Regions from separate parts of the Homo sapiens genome. Here regions 1 and 3 are each linked to region 2. Evidence: promoter capture Hi-C in 16 types of primary human blood cells and fetal thymus (Javierre and others, 2016). All regions are on one chromosome and are shown on one strand. The core of a region is centred on a gene start or on the middle of the fragment in contact, and the rest is flanking DNA. Distances in the headings are between cores, read along the strand shown. Region 1 overlaps NUSAP1 (nucleolar and spindle associated protein 1). Region 2 holds the start of DLL4 (delta like canonical Notch ligand 4). Region 3 overlaps EXD1 (exonuclease 3'-5' domain containing 1).

Region 1 (3,882 bases), core at 983-3,482, 430 kb before region 2:
CTTGGTCTGTTGCCCAGGCTGGAGTGCAGTGGTGTGACCTCCATGCACTGCAACCTCCACCTCCTGGGTTCAAGCGATTCTCCTGTCTCAGCTTCCTGAGTAGCTGGGAGTACAGGCACCCACCACCATGGCCAGGTAATTTTTGTATTTTTAGTAGAGACAGGGTTTTGCCATGCTGGCAAGATCTGTCGAACCCGGGAGGTGCAGGTTGCAGTGAGCCAAGATCGCACCACTGCACTCCAGCCTGAGTGACACAGTGAGACTCATCGCAAAAAAAAAAAAAAAAAAAAGATGGATAAACAGTGCCTTCAAATGTGGTAACAGTGAGGACAGGAGTGGTGGCTCACGCCTGTAATCCCAGCACTTTGGGAGGCTGAGGTGGGTGGATCACCTGAAGTCAGGAGATCGAGACCAGCCTGGCCAACATGGTGAAACCCCATCTTTACTGAAAATATAAAAATTAGCAGGGGCTGGGCGCCGTGGCTTATGCCTGTGATCCCAGCACTTTGGGAGGCTGAGGCAGGTGGATCACAAGGTCAGGAGTTCAAGACTAGCCTGGCCAACATAGTGAAACCCCGTCTCTACTAAAAATACAAAAAATTAGCCAGGCGTGGTGGCAGGCACCTATAATCCCAGCTACTCAGGAGGCTGAGGCAGGAGAATTGCTTGAACCTGGGAGGTGGAAGTTGTGGTGAGCCAAGATCACGCCATTGCACTCCAGTCTGGGCAAGAAGAGTGAAACTGTGTCAAAACAAACAAACAAACAAACAAACAAAAATTAGCCGGGTGTGGTGGTGGTTGCCTGTAATCCCAGGTACTTGGGAGGCTGAGGTGGGAGAATCACTTGAATCCAGGAGGTGGAGGTTGCAATGAGCCAATATTGTGTCACTGCACTCCAGCCTGGGCAACACAATGTGACTCCATCTAAAAAAAATAAATAAAATTACAAATACAAATATTAGCTGGGTGTGGTGGTGGGCACCTGTAATCCCAACTACTTGGGAGGCTGAGGCAAAATAATCTGCTGCATCCGGGAAGCAGAGGTTCCAGTGAGGCAAGATCGCACCATTGCACTCCAGCCTGGGTGACAGAGTGAGACTGAGTCTCAAAAAAAAAAAAAGTTTGACAAACAGTGCCTTCAAATGTGGTAACAGTGAGGATGGGAGCAATGGCTCATGCATGTAATACCAGCACTTTGGGAGGTGGGTTGATCACCTGAGGTCAGGAGTTCAAGACCAGCCTGGCCAACATGGTGAAAACCCGTCTCTACTAAAAATAAAAAAATTAGCTGGGTGTGGTGGTGGGCGCCTGTAATCTCAGCTACTGGGGAGGCTAAAGGCAGGAAAATCACTTGAATCAGGGAGGCAGAGGTTGCAGTGAGCTGAGACTGTACCATTGCCCTCCAGTCTGGGCAACAAGAGCGAAACTCTGTCTCAAAAAAAAAAAAGAAAAGAAAAGAAAAAAAATGGTTGTAACAGTGGTTTTACATCGTTAAAATGAATGTTTATTATTTCAATTAAGCTTCTCACCAAGAAGCTTAAGTACTTAAATTATTTACAATTTATCACCCAGTGAGTTTTCCTCTTGGCCCTAGCTGCCAGAAAACTTAAACTCAGCTGAGTGACTGATGGTAGTAAATACTGTACCTACTAACAGTGCTAATTTTCTGCCGCTTTTAAATTGACTATACTATTTTATATTTAATACCATAAACTTACATTATTTTGAGAATAGGCCTTAAATTCTTTTTGAGAAATAGGGAAGTTATGTAAAATAAACATGGGGTTAAGAATTAAATACAGCGAATAGAAATAAATATAATCTGGTGGCTCACACCTGTAATCCCAGCACTTTGGGAGGCTGAGGTGGGAGGATCACTTGAGCCTAGGCGTTCAAGGAGAGCCTGGGAATCATAGGGAGACCCTGTCTTTATGAGAAAAATACATAAATCCATAAATATTTAAAAATGTGTTTCCTGCCCTCCATTCGGCACTGCCTTAACACCAGATACCAATAACATCAACTTGCTAGAATGTTACTCACTACTTTGCTAACTCAGCCTCAGAGTTGACTTTATCACCTTCTCTTACTTGAGGAGGCTTTGAGTCCTGTGGAACCTGGACTGAAAGCCCTCGAGGGAGCTGTTACCACAGGAACCCTTCAGGTTTGCCACTATTAATCACCCATTTTCCTTTACATAAGGGACGAGGGAAAGAAGATGGCTTCAGCCATAAGTTGGTTCATCATCAATGAAAGTAATAGGCAAAACATCTGAATATGGAAAGTAGAATGACATTGCCATTTTGGAAATAGTTTCTCATAGTCAGGATTCACTGTTTTCTTTTTTTTTGAGACGGAGTCTCACTCTGTCACCCAGGCTGGAGTGCAGTGGCGCGATCTCAGCTCACTGCAATGTTGGCCTCCTGGTTCAAGTGATTCTCCTGCCTCAGCCTCCTGAGTAGATGGGATTACAGCCATGTGCCACCCCCTACTAATTTTCTGTATTTTTTGTAGAGACAGGGTTTCACCATGTTGCCCAGGCTGGCCTTGAACTCCTGACCTGAGGTAATCCACTTGCCTTGGCCTCCCAAAGTGCGGGGATTACAGGCATGAGCCACTGCGCTTGGCCATGGATTCACTGTTTTATCTAGAGGACTTTGAAAATTCTCAGGGTAGGGGAAAGCAAGTTTTAGATAAAGATATATTAAATTCAAACAAATCTACTGGTAGAGTGACAGCCAGTTGTTGTAACCACGGTGTTATATAGTTTCAAAATTATAATCAAACAGTTTAGTTCCATTAAGAACATAATTTTATCTACATACCTTCAGTTCATTCATGGAATTGTGTTCTTCAAAATGTTTCTTTTTTCTCTCAATATATTGATCAATGGACTCCATTTCCTTAAAATGAGCTTCATGAAGCTTCTTAAAGTCTAGAATGTTCCAATATAAAAATTAATAACAAAACAAAATCCATTTATTTATCTTCTCTGTGTTTTTCTGTTAACACTTATTCTCTTCTTTGCATCCCTGACATTCAACTTCAATATAATTTTTGCTAAAACATTAATTTCAAAATACTTAGTTTTTGGAAACTCAGGGGCAAAGCACATTCATCTTATAAACTATCAAACATTCACCATCTCCCCACTGACAAATTTCACTAAATTGACATCTTGGTTTAATCCAGAGGATTAGAGTAGAAGATTTATCTTCTCCCCTACCAATTAGTCACAAGTGGTCTTTATTTAATAATGAATTTGATATTTTATAATGCTGTATGTCAAGGACTGACAAATTTATTCTATAAAGGGCTAGATAAAAGTATTTAAGACTTGGCTGGTCATGGTGGCTCAACACCTGTAATCTCAGCACTTTGGGAAGCCAAAGCGGTCAGATCACCTGAGGTCAGGAGTTCGAGACCAGCCTGACCAACATGGAGAAACCCCATCTCTACTAAAAATACAAAAATTAGCCAGGTGTGGTGGCGCACGCCTGTAATCCCAGCTACTCGGGACACTGAGGCAGGAGAATCGCTTGAACCCGGGAGGTGGAGGTTGCAGTGAGCCTAGATTGCGCCATTGCACTCCAGCCTGGGCAACAAGAGCAAAACTTCGTCTCAAAAAAAAAAAGTATTTTAGGCTTTATGGCCACATATGGTATGGTCTCTGTCTCATATTCTTCTTGTTTTTATGTTATTTATTTATTTATTTTGAGACGGAGTCTTGCTCTATTGCCCAGGCTACAGTGCAATGGCATGATCTTGGCTCACTGCAACCTCTGCCTCACAGGTTCAAGCGATTTTCCTGCCTCAGCTTCCCAAGTAGCTGGGGTTAAAGGCACCTGCCGCCACACCTGGCTAATGTTTGTATTTTCAGTA
Region 2 (3,815 bases), core at 546-3,045:
GTCCTTTGGTGCCCATTCAGGGGTTCTGCCTCCAGAGGTGGGTAATGGTTTTCTTTTTTCCTTTTCAAAGTGAGAATTGTTGTGCTGCTGAAATATCCTTTTCCTCTGTGTCAGAACAACATCCCAAAGCCATTATTCCCTTTCCAAAGGAGCGGAATTCGCGAAAGGTGTAAAATACAGGAAGGGGCCCGTCAGCGGCGCTGGCAGCTTCAGCCTTTCTCACCGCCGTACTCCCCGCGTTCCCACGCCAAAAATAACCCGCAGGAAACGCAATTGTGCTCTGAGTCCAGGCAGCGAGCGGAATCCGAGCGTCCAGCGCGGGGCGCAGCTCCAGGCCAAGCTAAGCGTCCTGCCTCCCACCCCCAAGCCCGCACTTCCCCCGCCTAGAACAGATTAACTCTTTCGGCGCTGCGCCGTGTCGCCCCCCTGTGGTGGCGGAGCGAGCTACTCACCTGGCCGCAGGTCGTCTCCTGGCGCGTGCCAAGCTTCGATGATGAGCGAGAAGGTACCCTGGGAAAGGGGGTGGGGGGACGGAGAGATGGCGAGATGAGCAAGCGGGGAGAGGTGGGGGTGCCTTGCGGCAGCCTGTTTAATTAATCTAATTGCAGGATTCAGTTACTGCGCCCGGGTCAACATAACGGGGCTGTGCACAGTGTAGCGCTTGAGCAGGGAAGGCGAGAGGAGAACCCCCGGTAGAGGGAGGGTTGAGAGACGGGAGAGTGTAAGGGAGAGCCACTGGAGGAGGGGGTGGTAGGGTACCGCCCCAGAGTGGTAGGTAATGAAAATCGTGTCCCAAGAGCTGGGGACGGGAGGACATAAACTGGGAAGACGGAGACTGGTGAGAGCCTTTTCTGGGATCAGTCTCAGGAGAGAGTCGGGAAGAGCCAGGAAAGAATGCATCCTGGGCTTTTTGGGGGTGGGGGTGTGTGTACAAGGAAATCTGGGGAGGGGGCTTTGGTCCCAGGGCGCCTCCTCTCTCGGCTTCTGCGACCTCCCAGTGCGCCCAGGCTGTGCTCACCGGCCAGGTGAAATTGAAGGGCAGTTGGAGAGGGTTGCGCCCCCCGCCGCTACTGTCGTCCCGGACAGCGAAGGAGTTGGTGCCCAATACCGGCGTGGAGACGGTCCCGAAGGTGCAGGGTCCGGGCGAGACGACCGCCTGGAAGTGCTTAAGGCAGACGCGGAAGAAAGTCCGGCAGCCGGGCTCGCAAGGCCGCCCACTGGCCAGTACGCCGCGCTCGTTGATGAACTCCTGCAGCTGCAGCTGGAAGACGCCGGAGCCGGCCGCGCGCTATTGCACAGGGACCGAGGGAAGGAGGGAGGGGACCGGTCAGCTCAGCTGGTGCCCGGGGCTGAGGCCCAGAGCGCGGCAGAGGGGACGGAGAGGGCGCGGGACGTGTTACCTGCTGCCAAAGTGCCACCAGCAGCAGTAGCGCCCAGCCAGAGGCGCTCCGGGACGCTGCCGCCATCCCCTCGGGCGTCGCTCTCTCCACCCGCGGGCCCTCAATCTGGCTCTGTTCGCGACGCCGCTTTCCCGCGCGTCCGCCAGCCGGCGGGGTCCCTGAAAAGAGGCGCTCCTCTCGGGACGCTGCTCCCCTTTGGCCTTCTCGCTGGCTCCGCTGCAGCTGCCGCTGTAGGTAATCCAGGTGACTACGGCTGGGCGGCGACCGCGCCGAGGACGCGTCTTCTGTCTAATCCTGGGGCTGCAAGCGGGCTAGTGCCGGTGTACGCTGCACCAAGGCGGCTGGGGCTGCGGCTCTTGGCCTCGTGTTCCCGGCCTGCGCGCAGCGCCGCTACTGAAACCTGCGCGCTGGGGGCCTTCCTTATATATATTGGCTCCTCTCCTCGCCGCCTGTCACTCAGACTCATGGTCATTCTCCCCTCCCCTCCCGGCCTCTAGCTGCTACAGTCCCAGCGCCGCCCGGAGGGGGCCTCCGCCCCCGCCGCTCCCCCCTCCCCGTCAGCCAGTCGGGCGCAGGTCCCCGCCCCTCCGTGCCGCTCCCAACCTCTAGGTCCCCCAGCTCTGCGCGTGCCGAGGTGACCAGTCCTCCGTGATGGCGGGGTTAAGGGCTGAGACCCTGGCCGCCGGAGGATAGAGGGGTTGCCCGGTAATGGGGCAGGAGGTGAGTGGGTGGTTCGGGGATGGTCTTGGGGGCGGAGACACTAGGCAGTCCCTGTAGGCTGTGCATCCGCAGCAGGCGCTAGTTACCTAGTGTTCCAAAGCAGGTAAAAAGAACTTAAGCCCGGAATGCAAAAACCAGCGCTAGGGAAATCCGATCTCCTTTTCCTTCCTGGAGCTTCTGGAGCCCTTGTCTCAACGGCCCCCAACCTATGAGTGCCCACCCACCACGCGTCCCCAGCGCAGCAGGGAAGCCAGCAGAAGCGTTAACCTCTCTGTGGCCACTCTGAGCAAGGCTAGGGGCTAAGGGTCTAAGGCTCGGGGCCCTCTCTGTGCACCTGTTGGGCGTCTCCCTCTCTAGCTAAGGGGGGGCGTGCCCAGCGCGTGCCTTCTCCCTTCTGCCCCCTGCCAGGGCTTGGCGCGTGCCAGAGACCCAGACGCGCGGTCCCTGAGGTGGGGGAGGGCGGGGCGTGGTCCCGGAGGTAGGAGGGGGGCGCGTCCTCAGCTGTATGGTAATGAGGTTCTGGCCCCGCCTCCAGCGCGTCCCCTCACCTGAGTCCAGCTTCAGTTCCTGCGCCCACTGCCTCCCCCCACCCCAGCAGCCCCAAGCCCCCGGCCGCGCCCTGTCGCTCAGCTGGGGCAAGGAGGAACTCTCCTGACGCCAGAGTTGGCTCAGGCCACTGGAGAATCAAGGTGAGGGACTGAGGCCGGGTCGGCCCGGGTCCTCGCCTCATAAGGCGGGATGTGGGGTGGAACTGGAGGCTTGCGGAGCTGTTTGAGTTTCAGGCGGCTTCCCAAGTCTCGCCCGAGAGGGTCCCCTGGGTGGCCCCACTCCTCCAAGCGGCAGCAGCGCAGCTGCTTTCTCGGAACCCGGCGTGATCCCCGGAGACCGCAGACCGGGGAGGGCCGGCTTCTCCCAGTCTCAGGGGTGCCGGGGAGCTCTCTCTTTGCGACGCCGAGGGCAGCGGGGGCCCTGTGGCTTCAGCTGTCAGCCCGCCCGCGAGGTGATGGCTGTAGTCGGGCGGTAAGATCAGCGCGGGGGGGGAGCCGGGACGCGGCGCGAACCCGGGGGAGGCGGTAAGGGTGGGGGAGCGGCGAGAAGCCCAACAGCTGCCAATGCCGAGCATGGTCTGATTTTTTTTTTTGAGTTGGGTGGTGGTGGTGGAGGACTGGGGGACGGGTGTGGTGGGGGGGGGAAGGATGAGAAACAAGAGGTTGGGAGCGTGGGTTGGGGGAGGGGCGAGGTGAGGAGACGGGCTCCGGGGTCCCCCACGCACGGCCACCCCTCCCAGCCACCATCTGGCGCGAGCGGGTTGGCGTGGGGAACCGAGGTGGGGCGGGGCGGCAGATGGGCCCAGGCTGCGCTCGGGAGTTAATGTAGGTTATGGGCAGGCGGAGTCCCAGGCCCGAGGGAGGGGGAGTCCGGGGCGTGCCTCCCGGCGATCCTGGCAAGTGGGCTCCCAGATCTTCTCTCCGCCTATACCCTATGGATCCCTGGACTTGCCTCTCTAAGATGCCAGCGGGTGCCCCTTGCTCCCCTCCAAGCTGGCATCCAGCCCTACCTAGCCCTGTCCTCTCTCAACTCCAAATCCTGGCCCAGGAGTTAATAAAAACATCCTCCTTTTCTGGCGCTGGTCCTGCTTACCTGACCCTCAAGGGAGACATCTAGTCCCACACAAGGCATCTCTCCCAATACTGG
Region 3 (3,648 bases), core at 475-2,974, 280 kb before region 2:
TGGAGGCCAAGGCAGGCAGATCACTTGAGCCCAGGAGTTACAGACCAGCCTGGGCAACAAGGCAAACCCACCCCTACAAAAAATACAAAAAATTAGCTGGGCATGGTGGCACAGGTCTGTAGTTTCAGCTACCCGGGAGGCTGAGATGAGAGGATCAGCTAAGCCCCGGAGGTCGAAGCTGCAGGAAGCTAAAGTAGGAGGATAGCTTGAGCCCAGGAGTTCATGCCACAGTGAGCTATGATCTGCACTCCAGCCTGGAGGACAGCATGAGACTGTCTCAAAAACAAAACAAAACAAAACAAAAAACAAAAAAAGAAGCTTTTGCTCTGGAAGTTTGAAGAGGTAATTAGGAATTCTCATCAGTAGAGAATGCAGCTTTTGTTGCCGGTTCTGCAGCCATCTGATTGGGAATGAAGCTGAAATTCAGTGCCATTTTCTCATCATTGATGAGAGATACTCAGAATTGAGAACACTTTATGCTCTCTAAAGGGAGATATGTTGCTAGTGTAAATTACTATGCCTTTCTGTTATTGAATAATTGAACTACCTATAAAATGGGGAGAATCTTTTATCATGCAAATATTTTTATGAATTATGGATTAAGGATTATAGAATTGTATAATGAAATAGGGTAAGATTATAGATAATCAAAGGACAAGAGTGTGTACCTGGGGTACCACTATTTCAGTGTTTTGTGTTTTTTTTTTTACACAGGCTGAAGTGCATCATCATGGCTCACTGCAGCCTCAGCCTCCCAGGCTCAAGTGATCCTCCCACTTTAGCCTCCTGAGTAGCTGGGGCTACACTGCAGGTGTGCACCACCATGCCTGGATAATTTTTTGTATTTTTTGTACAGACACTGTTTTGCCCAGTCTGGTCTGAAACCCTTGGGCTCAAACGATCCTCCTTCCTCAGCCTCCCAAAGTGCTGGGATTATAGGCATGAGCCACTGCGCCCAGCCACTATTTCAGTTTTGAGTAATTCAGTGAATCCGAGGCTTTAAGGGACCTGAAGAGTCCTTGTTTCTGTCTTTCTGAGCAGTGGATACTCTGAGACTTAGCCACCACCTATATTCCTTTCAGTTGTGGTAAATTGCCCTGTGTTAGGGCATGCCATAGTTTGCATGAGGAATCTTGTCTTAAAGATTATAATTCAGGGCCAGGCTTGGTAGCTCACACCTGTAATCCCAGCACTTTGGGAGGCCGAGGCAGGTAGATCACTTGAGGTCAGGAGTTTGAGACCAGCCTGACCAACATAGTGACACCCTGTCATTACTAAAAATACAAAATTAGCTGGGCGTGGTGGTGCATGCCTGTAATCCCAGCTACTTGGGAGGTTGAGGGAAGAGAATCACTTGATTCTCTTGATCCACTGAGAGGTGGAGGTTGCAAGTCAAGATCGTGCCATTGCACTCCAGCCTAGCAACAAGAGTGAAACTCTGTCTCAATTTAAAATATAAAAACAGATTATGATTCTTTCTCTGTAGCATCAGTGGTAACAAAAGGTGTCTGAGTTCTCAACTCTTATTGTCATTTGGGGTCTGAGTGATTTATTTTCCAGCTGTGGAACACTTTTGCTAAAACAAAAAAAAAGAATCAGAAGTATTCAGTGCTGATTTATTTGCATGTGTAAAACAGACTGTTTTGGATTAATCAAATTTTGTAAGTTTAACAAAGATGATGCACTTTGTTTACTGCTGACCATTGTATTTGTGCCAATCATGATGTTATCATGCCAACATTTATTCCCTGAAAGTTTTTCCTTTCCTTCTTTTTCTTACCAGATACTCCATATCAAGAAGCAGAATGTCCTGAGTGTGGCAGCAGAAGGAGCGAATGTATGTCGCCATGGCAAACTGTGCTGGCTGCAGGTGAAAGATTTTTGAAAACTTTTTATTTTGAAGTAATTATAGAGCCACTGGTAGATTTTTTTCTTTCCTTCTTTTTGAAAACTGTATTTTAGAGATGGGATCTCACTCTGTCACTGAGGCCACAGTGCAGATCATAGATCACTGCAGCATTGAACTCCTGGGCTCATGCTGTCTATCCTCACTTTAGCCTCCTGAGTAGCTGGGACTACAGATGCATGTCACCACACCCAGCTTTGTTTTTTTGAGATGGGGTCTTGCTGTGTTGCCCAGGCTGATCTCAAACTCCTGGCCTCATGTAATCCTCTTGCTTTAGCCCCCCTAGTCACTGGGATTACAGGGATAGGCCACTGCACCTGGCTCACTGGTAGATTTATTAATTGTCTTCTTTCTGTCACCCTAGTGTCATTGTTGCATAACTTGTTGGAATGTTCTTCCTTCTCCTGGTACTCACTTTATTCTTTTCAAAAGGAGAGAGCTTCTGTCTCCTTATAGATTCACTTTGTTTTTTTTTTTAAGCTCAGTAGCAAGAATAGGTTCGCTGTTAAAGCCATTAGTGCTGTCTCTCGGGCTCTGCTGGAGGTCTTTCCCAGTTCTGTTCTATCACCTTAGTTCTATGAAGAGTGTCGTCTCTTTTCATTCTGGGGTGGTAGCTTTCCACAGCAGGTTTCTCACCACATCATTTTAGTTTCCCTGGACCTGGGAGATATTAAATGAGAGTCTCTATTATTATTACTATTATTATTATTATTTTGAGACAAAGTCTTGCTCTGTCACCAGGCTGGGGTGCAGTGGTGCATCTCGGCTCGCTGCAACCTCCGCCTCCTGGGTTCAAGCGGTTCTCCTGCCTCAGCCTCCTGGGTAGCTGGGACTATAGGCATGCGCCACCACACCTGGCTAATTTTGTGTTTTTAGTAGAGACGGGGTTTCACCATGTTGGCCAGGCTGGTCACAAACTCCTGATCTCAAGTGATCCACCCACCTCGGCCTCCCAAAGTACTAGGATTACAGACGTGAGCCACCACCCCTGGCCAATATTTTTTAAAAGTTTGTAGTTAGCCTTGAAGAATAGCTAGAGGATGGATAGCTTTTGGGTCCCTCTTCCTTTACTTTTTTTTTTTTTTTTTTTTTTTTCAGAGATGAGTTCTCCCTATATTGTCCAGGCTGGTCTCAAACTCCTGGTCTCAAGCAATCCTTCTGAGTCAGCCTAACCGCAAAGTGCTGGGGTTACAGGCATGAGCCACTGCAGCTAGCCAAGCTTAGCTTTTAGATGACTAGGTTTGAATTAGCAGCACAAATACAAATTACTTAAAACAACCCTAAACTTCCATCTACCAAAACAAAAGAGAGTAGACTTCCTGGTAACACAGGTCTGGGCAGTTCTAGGTTATTTCCTAAATTGTCCCCTTTGGTTTTCTGGGTATCAGAGGAACATGCAGTTGTCTACAGCTGTCCTTTCTTTTTGTTTTCTCTCTTTCTTTTTTTTTTTTTTTGAGGCAGGGTCTCGCTCTGTTGCATGGGCTGGAGTGCAGTGACACAATCTTGGCTCACTACAACCGCCGCCTCCCAGGTTCAAGCAATTCTTATGCCTCAGCCTCCTGAGTAGCTGGGATTACAGGCATGAGCCAACATGCCTGGCTAATTTTTGTCTTTTTAGTAGAGATGGGGTTTCACCATGTTGGCCAGGCTTGTCTCGAATTCCTGGCCTCAGGTGATCTGCCCACCTCAACCTCCCAAAGTGCTGGGATCTGGACTACAGCTGTCCTTTCTGCAACTGGAAG

Evidence for each region. Contacts are between HindIII fragments. The CHiCAGO score rates a contact against its expected background, and 5 or more counts as called.
Region 1: a fragment that was not itself captured here is called in contact with the fragment with the promoter of DLL4 in region 2 in 1 of 17 cell types (endothelial precursors); the score reaches 5.3 in endothelial precursors.
Region 3: a fragment that was not itself captured here is called in contact with the fragment with the promoter of DLL4 in region 2 in 1 of 17 cell types (erythroblasts); the score reaches 5.4 in erythroblasts.

Annotation. Positions count from the first base shown.
Region 1 is chr15:41,357,202-41,361,083 of GRCh38, reverse strand. NUSAP1 (nucleolar and spindle associated protein 1) reads right to left here. Exons shown (of 11, transcript NM_016359.5): 6 at 2,826-2,935. Among named protein-coding and RNA genes, the nearest start is that of NUSAP1, 26 kb to the right of the region's middle. The HindIII fragment of the contact is 1,388 bases long and covers 1,539-2,926 here.
Region 2 is chr15:40,927,320-40,931,134 of GRCh38, reverse strand. It overlaps DLL4 (delta like canonical Notch ligand 4), which reads right to left and starts at 1,795. Exons shown (of 11, transcript NM_019074.4): 1 at 1,401-1,795; 2 at 1,019-1,288; 3 at 453-510. The coding sequence starts at 1,466. RefSeq lists silencers at 1,901-1,990, 2,584-2,653. The HindIII fragment of the contact is 7,449 bases long and covers 488-3,815 here.
Region 3 is chr15:41,207,723-41,211,370 of GRCh38, reverse strand. EXD1 (exonuclease 3'-5' domain containing 1) reads left to right here. Exons shown (of 12, transcript NM_001286441.2): 7 at 1,784-1,870. Among named protein-coding and RNA genes, the nearest start is that of EXD1, 21 kb to the left of the region's middle. The HindIII fragment of the contact is 2,807 bases long and covers 321-3,127 here.